Regions from separate parts of the Homo sapiens genome. Here regions 1, 2 and 3 are each linked to region 4. Evidence: promoter capture Hi-C in 16 types of primary human blood cells and fetal thymus (Javierre and others, 2016). All regions are on one chromosome and are shown on one strand. The core of a region is centred on a gene start or on the middle of the fragment in contact, and the rest is flanking DNA. Distances in the headings are between cores, read along the strand shown. Region 1 overlaps DTWD1 (DTW motif tRNA-uridine aminocarboxypropyltransferase 1). Region 2 overlaps CEP152 (centrosomal protein 152). Region 3 holds the start of EID1 (EP300 interacting inhibitor of differentiation 1). Region 4 holds the start of SPPL2A (signal peptide peptidase like 2A).

Region 1 (2,700 bases), core at 35-2,534, 1.1 Mb before region 4:
ATTGGAAGTGGTTTTTTTCTAATACTGAATTGGTCCACAATATAGGACAGGGGAGTCTGTATAGTGTTCCATTGGGAGGTGAGTCAGCTTACAATAATGGAAGAGGTAGAAGCTTTTTGTTATTATTTTGGAGAAAAAAAAATTGCCAGCCTGCCACTTGTGCTAGGCTGCAGACGGCCCATAAAGGTAGTTTGTCAGATACTTCAGTAGTGAGATGCTTACTGGATGTGTTTTGCAGAATGGTTTTGATTTAGTTAACAAGTGTTTGTTGAGTTCCTGCTGTTGCATAAGAATCAGGAATAGGTGAGATCAGGGAAGGAATCTGCTCTTACAGAGTTGAATGCTGGAGGGGATAGATTCACTAAAGTACCTCCACAATAAATGCATTTTTCCATGTCAAATATGTGGAACTAATAATAAGTACTCAAAGAGGTTTAAGACATTGCTGTGGCCCATCTATGAGTTAATAAGGAACTGAATTAGAATCCTGACTTTGAGAGTGAAGATAGAGGATTATATACAAGGTAGATGCAACTTGGTGAGTATAATTAATTTGGGGTGGAAATTGGGTAGAAGGAGGAATAAAAAATTAATGTATTTTTAGCCTTAAGTTCCAGAATGATGGACGCACCATCAAGGTGTTAAAATTGTTAGTTCCTTAGGAACAGTCTTTATGTTTTCTAAGTCTTTTTAGCCCCCATGACTCAAATTGTACTTCCTTGCACATATTTGATGTTAACAAGTATGTTTTAAAAATTTTAAATAACCCCATTTGCAATAAAATCATTTGCAATGATTTTCTCACAGTCGAGGCAGGCTGTTGGCTCGGTTAGGACAGATGCCCTGATCATGTAGTTTCAGAGACCACTGGAGGGAGCTGCCCATGATTTACAATTGCTGGCCTCTTCTACGTGGCCACCTCAGCCATAAGTGAGAGTATATAGGTGAACTAAGAGGTGGAGCCATAAACATTTCTCTTTTACTGTCTTACAGGTATTTGTGGTGGTTGATTTTTCTAGAGGAAGGTTATTTATATAAAGCTTCACTAATATCCATTTAGTTATGTGGATAGCAGGTCCATGAACTGCAAAGTGATATTTCTGAGGTATCTCTAGGAGGAATGCACTTTCAGTGCCCTAGGATAACTCCAAAAACTCACCAGTAGTTTTCTGTTAAATGTCAGGCAACCACAGTAACTTTCATGACATCCACAGGAACTACATTTTTCAGTCCCACTATGCCTGGGCCTTTGAGTGGTACATGCATTCCCACTAAATAGCTACTCCATTACCCAGGGAAATGAAGTCAGGTTGAGCTACTCCAATCAAATTTCATTTTTTAGGATGAATCCCATCATCTGAATAACTCAGGACTATTAAAGCCTCAAAATGTTTCTCTGTAAGAACCTCAGGCAACACCAGGACAAACCCAAAGAGAGTTTAGGTGAAACTTAGCTTCGTATGTGCAGCAAAGAGACGCCAACAGAGCATTTGCAACTCTCATTTCTGGGGACTATTAGGATCTCTTCCCAAGCTTTTTTTTTTTCTCTGTTTTAGAGATGGGATCTCACTTTGTTGTCCAGACTGTTCTCAAACTCTTGTGCTCAAGTAATCCTCCCACCTTAACCTCCCAAATGCTAGTATTATAGGCATGAGCCACCATGCGTGGCCCTTCCCAAGCTTGGAACTTCCTTACCTGGGTCGTAGATGGACTCTAGGAGATCTCCAAACCTCCTGAAATTGTGTGCAAAATATTGTGTCTGTATATGCATTTTCTAGGGATGCGGTTTAATATTTTCATGTGATTCCTAAAAGAATCTGAGGCTCAAGAAAAGAGGGCATCTTAATATCCTGCACTTTCAGTCATTGAGGGCATGATCACAAAGATCAAAGCCATTTTTAGGCAGGTGAGTTGGAGTGGCAGTCAGAAGTAGGTAAGATTTTCTATTTGTGAGGCAGGAACAAGGGATTGGACCATTGTTCTTAAATACTGCTTTCTTACCCAAAATGCAAATCTGTGCGTAATCAGTACACAGCAAAAATATTTACTGTATTTTGTTTTTCCCCTTGGGTACATTTGGCAAGTGCCTTTTTCTACTATAACCGGCGTTTTTGTATCTCTTTATTTGTATCTCAAACTCACTGGGACTTACAATCTTAAAAAAAAAAAGAAAAAGAAAAATTCATTTGATGAGTAATTAAATTAGTGCCACTAACTTCTTCTCAGCAAATTATGTTGTATTTTATGTTTCTCTGGACTTTTTGTTCACTTTCTGTTTGGGAGACCACAAAATGTTTCCTGCTGGAGTCACAGCATTTCTCTTGTCCCTGTTTCTACTTAAAGTGCCTGGAGCTTCGTAGTTAAACCACAATGCCAGAAGGCTTTATAATAAGAGAATTATTTTACAGCTGTGGAATGCATATCGAATCAATAGGGCACCAGTGTTGTTTCTCCCTTGAAAGATATCTTCCTTACAGGGTATACAGATAGCAATTTTGGCAGCCATCACCCTTCTTTGAAGAAAATATTAAGTGGGAAAGTTATTTTACCATTTTTCTCTAGTACTAAAGAATCTGAATGATGTATGTTTTTAAAAAACATAAATTCTTAGAGTAAGTGGACATTAATGTTACTCTGTAAATTTTTAAAATTTATAGGATAATATATTTTACCTTATGGGATATTTTACAAATTGTAATG
Region 2 (2,858 bases), core at 39-2,538, 2.0 Mb before region 4:
ATTATTTTTTAAAGTAAAAATATTTTTATTAACATGAAGTTTTTTACAAATTTAACCATAATCATCATGTTAGAGTCAATTCAGCTATATATCCTTCCACTCTGCTAGAAATACTCATTCTTAGATACTTGATCTTTCAAGAACAACTTTTCCCCTGAAATTCCCTATCCCAGCATACAATCTATCAAAGAGGTGATCCCAAATAGCTGTTTTCTATATTATCTAGAATTAATTGCCTCCTTAACTAGTATCCCCTCTAAAATTTTAACCACACAATACACTGGCAGACCTATCTCTCTAATATATTTCTCAATGAAAAATCACCTGTCAAAATATTTTTTCTTCTTTACAGTAGTGATTATTTAAACTGACCTTCTCAAGAATCCCAGTGGCTAAACCCCAGCCAACTATCCAAGCCCAGTCATGAATACCTCATGCTGCAGGTTCAAAGTAACAGAAAATCCTCATTCCCATCCTTGCCACAATTGTTGTGAGGGGCCCTGCCAAAATCCGGAAACCCTCACCAGGGTCATAAACTCAAATGCCCTCAGGGCCCTGGCAGAGAATTTACCAGAGTGAAGCAGGCAGGTCTGAGTGCATAAGCCCATGTCTGTGTGAGAAGTGGGGACTGTGGCCAGCTGGGGAAGGAGAGCCACTGCTCAGTTCCAGCCCGCCTGCTGCCATGTGCAAATACAGGCCAGGTGTGGCCAGGGCTTTGGATGTTTTTTAGATAAGCCAGAGACTCTGCAGTGCTGCATAAAATTTTCCCATCTTCAAATACAGATTCAATTTTTTAAAAGCACTCTGCAACCAACAATACCTGTCTGAACCAAATCCAGCAAGTTGCCAGTTTTCTATCACTGCCTTAATTCTACCACCAGCCACATGAGCAATGGTCAACTGACCCTATTCCTTGCTTCCTGTTAATACTCATGGTCCACAATAACTATTAAAAAAGACTTTTTTACATGTTAGAAAATGGGTCATATAAAAAATAGCGTCAGGACAAAAGAAGCCTTTTATCACAGACAATCAAGAAATTTGACTTACACTAAAAACAACCAAAACAACTAAATTGACTTCCACCAATAACACTATTACTGCTGCTATTACTATTGCCACCATTTACTGAACATTTGCTATGTGCCAAGAATTCTGCTAAACACTTTACATATAAATAATATGGTCTCTCCCTTTTATTCCTTTCCTTCTATAATCTATTCACCATGCAGCCTTCTGAAAGATCTTCAAAAATATGATATCAATTTTCCCTGCTTAAAATCCTCCACTGGCTTCCCATTGTTCTTAGAATAAAATACAAACACCTTATCATGGCTTTCCATGATCTGACACCCACATCCACCACCCAACACTGGCTCATATATACCCAATACCATGGCCTTCTGGCCGCTCCACATGATCTGTGGCATACACGGGGTCTCTTCCCAACTTCCCAGCTTACACTCATTGGTGTTTTGGCGTAGACTGCTCTTCCTCAGGCTTCTGCATGGCTGGTTCCTTCTCATGAGTCAAGTCTCAGCTCATATATTGCCTCCTCCCACAGACCCTCCCTCACCACCCCATCTACAGCAATCCCCTATCAATTGCTTTCATAGCACTCCAATTTGTTTCCCTGTCATTTATCAATGATAAATTATCACTCACTCAAATTACTTTACTCACTTGTTTACTTGTTTATTGTCTGCCTCCACTAGGATGTAAACTACCCAAAGCAAAGAGCCTTGTCAGACTTGTTCATGGCAATGTTTCAAGCACCTAGAAACTAACCTTCCACTTCCAAAGCCAACCATTACCTCCTAAATGAAAAGAAAAATTTAACCATTTATCTGATGGTATTATTCACAGTTGTGTTTTATTCCTGTCTCAAAAACAGAAGCATTCCACTTATTCACCTTTTCAGTCTAAATAGCAAGCAGATTTTAGGGTTGTTTTTTTTTTAAAAAATCCAAATCCCTTCAAAATGACACAAGATGATACAATTTTGATCAAGAAATAAAACTTGTTAAAGATTGGGTTTAGTGTCTCTTTTTTTTTTTTTTTTTAACAACTTACCTCTTTCTCTCTTTCATAGTCCTCTTCGTCATACTCTTCATCTTCATTTTGCACTGGTAGTGCCACACTGCCAAAGTCTAATGACATGGTCCTCCTGTGGGAAGGGAAAGATGTTTGGTTTCTGGACACCACATAAAATCTCCCCAGGACAAACTACATAAGAGATGCCATACATACACAAAGTGAAAAGACAGAAACAGACTGGGAGAAAATATGTATAACTCAGTTATGGCCAATAAAAATAATGGTGATTCACCGAAAATAGCTATATGACAGCAATTCATGGAAAAGAAAACATGCAAATAGGTAATAAAGCTATGAATAGACCTTTCTAGTGGTCTGAAGAGTATAAAACAGTAAGATTTTTGCCGACATGAAAAATAAGATGACAATAATAATAAACTAGAAATGTGCCAAATGTAAAAATCTTAAGCTCAAACAAAACTTCAAATGTGATATATTAAACATGGCACAGGCAGTACCCTATTGCTTCATTTTTTTTTAATATCAGAAATCCAAATATCATGCTTTACAAGAAGAAGGCCCCTAAATCATGAGTGAATGACTACTACCCAGAAACCATTTACAATTCAGTCAATGCCATAGAGTGCACAACAAAATATAAGTCTTAAATGTCCTCCTCTTAAGCTTGATAAAATCAGGTTCTGGCAATATACTCGGGAAAAACAGAAGTGAAGGCTGTGAAGCTCCACCACTGTGGACTTCCAATTCCAAAAGCAACAGCAAGAGTTCCCTGGGGAGCAGTGACTGCTGCGGCAGAAGCA
Region 3 (2,916 bases), core at 139-2,638, 1.9 Mb before region 4:
GCTCAGGGCTCCCATTGATTCTACATTATGGTGAGTTGTATAATTCTACATAACTATAATGTAATAATAATAGAAATAAAGTGCAGAATAAATGAAATGTGCTTGAATCCTGTAAGTATACACAGTCATATAATTCATATAAGTATATACAACTTAAAACCTGAGGCTTTTAAGTTGAAGGTAAAAACAGGTAAAACATGTTTTTAAAAAACACACAAAATAGTATTTTGCTGTCAATACATAAAGATACATGTAAATGCAAATAAAAAGAATTCAAAGAATACACACCGCATTGCTAATAGTGGAAAGATACCTCCCAGGCGAAAAGAAATGGGACCAAGTATTTCTTCACTATAACTAAAAAAAAAAAAAGTACAATATATCTGTTGTTTGTGAATTTAACTTTTTAAATGAAAACACTAAAAGGACAAAATGGATTAGTTCTTAATATGCTGATCTGTGGTTATGGATGTTGTCTGGTTTGGAGACGTGGATTTACAAGTCATCAGTACATCGGTAAATTGCCCAGGGGAAGAGGAAGGGGGGGAAGGAGCATTAAATGTTACGAAGGCCATGTAAGGTTATTTTCCGGTTTGCAGCATTACAAGCAGCAGTAGGGTTAAGTAACACAGAAACTGTTACGCTCTTGCATGCAGGGTCCCTAGATACGAAGTTCGAATCGATGGAAACGTAGCTCAAAAGGCGACGCCAACACCCCGGAGAAAACACTGAGCTACTCCAACCACAGTGGCGCGCCAAGTAGGAGGCGGTACCTGAGGACCACGCCTGCGCGCGGGGTTACGCAAGCGCGCAGCCTTTGCGCACGCGCACGAACGCACGGCCGCGCAGCATCTGTCTTGCTGGAAGCTTTTTCCTAGAGGTTGAGCGGTTTGCACAATGTCGGAAATGGCTGAGTTGTCCGAGCTGTATGAAGAGAGCAGTGACCTGCAGATGGATGTGATGCCTGGCGAGGGTGACCTTCCGCAGATGGAGGTAGGCAGCGGGAGCCGGGAGCTATCCCTGCGTCCCTCCCGCAGCGGGGCCCAACAGCTCGAGGAGGAAGGCCCAATGGAGGAGGAGGAGGCCCAGCCAATGGCGGCGCCAGAGGGGAAACGGAGCCTTGCTAACGGGCCCAACGCTGGGGAGCAGCCAGGCCAGGTGGCGGGCGCAGACTTCGAGAGCGAGGACGAGGGCGAGGAATTTGATGACTGGGAGGACGACTACGACTATCCCGAAGAGGAGCAGCTCAGTGGTGCCGGCTACAGAGTATCAGCCGCTCTTGAAGAAGCCGACAAGATGTTTCTGAGAACAAGAGAACCAGCCCTGGATGGCGGGTTTCAGATGCATTATGAGAAGACCCCGTTTGATCAGTTAGCTTTTATCGAAGAGCTTTTTTCACTGATGGTTGTCAATCGTCTGACCGAAGAACTCGGCTGTGATGAGATTATTGATAGAGAGTAGTTAGATGCTGTTAAAAGAGGAGGAAACTACTTGAGGAGGGACCCAACTTTCCGCTATCTTTTGGGTTCATTCCAAATAGTTTTGTGCCATTGAAAAACTTGACCTTCAAAAAAATTTGTTTTTCAGAATAGAACACAATAGGACAGTGACTGCACAGTTGTGAAAAAGGAAGAGAATCATTAAAGAAAAAGAAAAAAGATTTTAAGACCGTTGAAATCAATTATCAAGAACGTCCTAAAACACCTATGGCTTTGACTTTGTTATTGATCCAGATTATTTTCCTTGCATTGGGGAAAATATCTTTCATATTTGTTTGCTGTAAAGATGGTTTTGCAAGAATAAGTCATGACCAAGACAAACTGCCAATACAAAAGCCCACTGATACTAATTATATAATGAGAAAAAAATGTATCCAACTAGGACACATATCTTTTGAGTTATTTGGACTGAAAGCTTAAGAAAACTTGGAAAATTCTATTTTGTGATCTAGTCAAGCCACAGTTATCAAAGGCTACATTTTCAGTGTAAGATAAATGGATGAGTAAACTCAAATATGTATCACGTGTGCTTTGTATCTTAAGATGTGTTTCCAAGAGCATCTGAAATTTTGTTTGTACATGTATCTTGATCATTTATAAAGCCACTGTGATCTATAAATCAAGAAAATCCATTGTCATAACCATTTTTAAAAGTCAAAAATTAAGACATCCTTAATTAAAAAGTTTCAAATCTAGACACTAAATGTGTGTGAATGTACAAAGAAAACAAACCATTGCTTATGCTGTTATATACTAGAGAAATTTTGTTTTGCTTGCTGTTTTAACTTGACAGATGAAGGACTTTAGTTGAACTTCATATTGTAAGAACTGTTAATAAAAGTTGTCAAGTAAAAAGCGCTATATCTAAAAAGACTTTATGAACAGTTATTCTATCAACTTTTAAAGGTTTTAAACCTGCCCAGAAATTACCTTGGTATCTGAAGTTTCCCTCTGTCTCCTCCTCTAATTAAGCTTGTTATTTGTCATGCACCAGCATTGGAGATAATAAAATTTCTTGTTCTGTGTATTTTGTTTGGCTAATAGTATTGCATACATACTTTCTCTGTATACTACTTTCTATTGTATGTGTTAACCAGTATTAAGGGAAAATGATCCAGCTTCAGCTATCTAATTCACAAATTAATTTCTGGAAATTAAACTTTGTAAATTAAGTTTTTGCCTATAAGAATTTGCTGGTCTGGGAAAACCTGCCCTATCAATGAGTATGTTGCCGTGGTTACCTTACTAAGATGCTGAAGTTCTAGGAGAGTAATGATTACATCAGAAGGCTAGGTTCAGCAAAATAAGTGTATCAGCAGGTTTTATCATGATCAGTAAAAATGTTCCAAATGCTTCTGCTCCATTATAGCAGTAAAGAACGAATATCCAATGCAACAGGACAATTCAGAGCCTTATT
Region 4 (2,954 bases), core at 125-2,624:
TTTGTTGCTCTTTTTATATCGAACTCCCCTCCCCCAGCAATTTTTAGATACATTCTCTCAGGTTCCTGATGTTGCCTGTCAAAGTTATGAATACACCAAAAGGCACTTACTTTTTGGCTTAGATTTTGGTTTTTCAATAAATATTAAAGACACTTTTGTATTCACTAATACTAACCCCTTAAACTGGAGAGTCAGCAAAACAGTCTTTCAAAGAAATCACACATTCTAATAGAACGAAACAAGCTTACACGACACCAATTCTGTAATAAATAACATGCGTAAGTTTCCAACCTGAAACTCCCTAAGTAAAAGTCACTAGAAACAAAAACTGAAACACCGGGTTCCTGACACCCCACTCCCACACTGAAGCTCGAATTACTTGAGGCTGAATTTTAAAACACTATTACTTCTCTGTGACTATGAAAACAAATCTATGAACACATATTTCTTACTTACATTTAACCGACGCTCCCCACCCATCCCTTTAAATTAGGCAGAAAACTGAAAACCACTAAAAGCATTACATTTTGGTGTCTTCTTTTAAAAGTTATTTTAAATTACTGCTATTAAAACCCCCCCTCCAAAAAAAAAAAACCCTCATAACAGAATCAAATGAGCCCTAAGGCGAAGCAGGAGCTACAGTGGGGGAAGGGAATTTTAAAAAGACATCCGTGTTAGTGCAATTAAAGTGCAGTCCTCGAACCGCTAAACATACTGGCGCCTTGTATAATTTTTTTTTCTTCCCAAGGGTAAAAAGCGGTAAGAAAGGCTTAGACAATAAAACCCAGAGGTCAATTTTAAATATGCTGGGACAGTGAGCAACTATCGAGAAGCATCAAGGTCAACGCAACCTAAGGGGCTCCTCTGATCTTTTTGCGGTAGGTATTTCGCCAGACTTCAATGGGCGGGAACCGAGTGGGGGGCGGGAAAGTTGGGGGAAAGAGGGTGGAAAAGAGGAGGGTGGAAGGAAAGAGATGAGTAATGGAAAGAGGAGGGGAGGAAAGAGGAGTGCGAGAGCAGGCCGCGGAGGTGCGGGCAGAGGGGAGGCCGGGCGAGGAGTAGGGGAAGGGAGCCCCGGCCTTGGCCCCGGCCCCGCCCAGCCCCTGGGAGGCCTGCGCGCCTTCCCGCCCCCTTACCAGCTGGAGCAGGAAGCCCCAGAGTAGGGCGGCCCCGGCAGGGGACAGCCGCCGCTGCGGCCCCATCGGACTGGTGGGTGCCGGGTGGGACGGCACGGTGCGGCGCAGCTCACTCGGCGGGGTAGGCTCGGAGTCCCGCCGCTGCGCTGCCTCCGTGGCCGGACCGGACCGGACAGGCGCGGGCGGCCGGGCTACGACTGGACCGCCGCTGCTACAGCGGCCGCCACAGCAGCGCGACTTCCTCTTCCGGCCCCGCCCGTAAGATGCGGAAACCCCCGCGCCGGGCTCGGAGAGTCCCAGCGCTCTCCCGGTATCCAGGCGTCCCGGCGTCCCGGCGCTACGAGGCCACCGGCTGCGGGTCTGAGCCTGTCGCTTTCCGGCTGCCCGACTTTAACTCACACCGAAGCCTGGCGGGAGAACGGATTTCTCAAGGCTCGGAAGTGTCTGAGCGTCTGCTCGGTTCCCCAGTAACTACCCGAGTGTTGCATGCAGCCAGAAATCTAAGGGTCACCCTAATTCATCTGCCTGTCATTTGTTCCTGGCCACTCTGACTCACCACATAACCCAGATCCATCCACTTTCTCCAGAACTGCTGCCACCACTCTATCCAGGCCACCAACTTCCCTCTCCTCCAAACGGGTCTCAGTTTCCCCTCCGGACAGCCCAGTAGCCACATAACAGTCCCAGAGCCATCTTTCAAAACATATAAGTCAGATCATGTCTCTCTCTATCACACTTGGAATAAAATAAAAACTTGGCCGGGTGTGATGGCTCACACCTGTAATACCAGCATTTGGATGGCCGAGGTGGGCGGATCACAAGGTCAAGAAATCGAGACCATCCTGGCCAACATGGTGGAACCAAGTCTGTACTAAAAATACAAAAAATTAGCTGGGCGTGGTGGCACGCACCTGTCGTCCCAGCTACTCGGGAGGCGGAGGCAGTAGAATCGCTTGAACCGGGTAGGCGGAGGTTGCAGTGAGCCGAGATTGTGCCACTGCACTCCAACCTGGGCGACAGAGCGAGACTCGGTCTCCAAAAAAAAAAAAAAAAAAAAATCAAAACTCTACTCTAGCCTGCAAAGGTAAATCTGGCCCCTGCCTTCCTGTCTCCCCATCTTCACTACTTTCCCACACTTTAAGGCGCACGGACCTTTGGCCCTCCCGGCCTTTGCTCTGGTGGGCCGCCCGGACTTTGCTCTGGTAGTCCTCCCTGCTGGAGTGCTCTTCTCTCCAAAGCTCAGAATGCCTGCCTTGTTGACATTCACTTATCAGCTTCAATGTCGCTTCCCCAGACGGGACTTCCTGACATACCCAATCTAAAGTACCTGTCCAGTCACTTTCTTTTCTTTTCCTTTCTCTTTTTTTTTTTTTTTTTTTTTTGAGACGGAGTTTCGCTTTTCTTGCCCAGGCCGGAGTGCGATGGTGCAATCTCGGCACACTGCAACCTCCGCCTCCCAGGTTCAAGCAATTCTCCTGCCTCAGCCTCCCCAGTAGCTGGGATTACAGGCGCGTGCCACCACACCCGGCTAATTTTGTATTTTTAGTAGAGACGGGGTTTCACCATGTTGGTCAGGCTGGTCTCAAACTCTCGACCTCAGGTGATCCACCCGCTTTGGCCTCCCAAAGTGTTGGGATTACAGGCATGAGCCACCGCACCCGGCCTGTCCAGTCACTTTCATATTATTGTTTATTTTAATTATCTGCACAGCACTTTTCATTCTATGTATAGGTTCATTTATTTATGCCACCTCCCACTTCATAGCAAGGGGTGTCTTTGCTTTGTTGACTGCTATACCCTTTACATCTACAGTATTTG

What was found. The method cuts DNA at HindIII sites, captures the fragments that hold promoters and counts their contacts. A CHiCAGO score of 5 or more calls a contact.
Region 1: a contact is called between a fragment that was not itself captured here and the fragment with the promoter of SPPL2A in region 4, in 3 of 17 cell types (naive CD8 T cells, non-activated CD4 T cells and total B cells). The highest score is 6.9, in naive CD8 T cells.
Region 2: a contact is called between a fragment that was not itself captured here and the fragment with the promoter of SPPL2A in region 4, in 1 of 17 cell types (naive CD8 T cells). The highest score is 7.5, in naive CD8 T cells.
Region 3: a contact is called between a fragment that was not itself captured here and the fragment with the promoter of SPPL2A in region 4, in 5 of 17 cell types (total B cells, activated CD4 T cells, naive CD4 T cells and 2 more). The highest score is 8.3, in total B cells.

Annotation. Positions count from the first base shown.
Region 1 is chr15:49,621,893-49,624,592 of GRCh38, forward strand. All of the region lies in intron 1 of DTWD1 (DTW motif tRNA-uridine aminocarboxypropyltransferase 1), which reads left to right. Among named protein-coding and RNA genes, the nearest start is that of DTWD1, 2.2 kb to the left of the region's middle. The HindIII fragment of the contact is 493 bases long and covers 1,039-1,531 here.
Region 2 is chr15:48,803,490-48,806,347 of GRCh38, forward strand. It overlaps CEP152 (centrosomal protein 152), which reads right to left. Exons shown (of 27, transcript NM_001194998.2): 2 at 2,074-2,167. The coding sequence starts at 2,160. Among named protein-coding and RNA genes, the nearest start is that of CEP152, 6.2 kb to the right of the region's middle. The HindIII fragment of the contact is 2,862 bases long and covers 1-2,719 here.
Region 3 is chr15:48,877,280-48,880,195 of GRCh38, forward strand. The region is part of intron 4 of SHC4 (SHC adaptor protein 4); the gene reads right to left. EID1 (EP300 interacting inhibitor of differentiation 1) reads left to right here and starts at 855. Exons shown (of 1, transcript NM_014335.3): 1 at 855-2,894. The coding sequence starts at 898. The coding sequence ends at 1,461. RefSeq lists enhancers at 430-539, 810-1,109. The HindIII fragment of the contact is 1,047 bases long and covers 866-1,912 here.
Region 4 is chr15:50,764,332-50,767,285 of GRCh38, forward strand. SPPL2A (signal peptide peptidase like 2A) reads right to left here and starts at 1,375. Exons shown (of 15, transcript NM_032802.4): 1 at 1,137-1,375. The coding sequence starts at 1,202. RefSeq lists a silencer at 950-1,409. The HindIII fragment of the contact is 3,596 bases long and covers 242-2,954 here.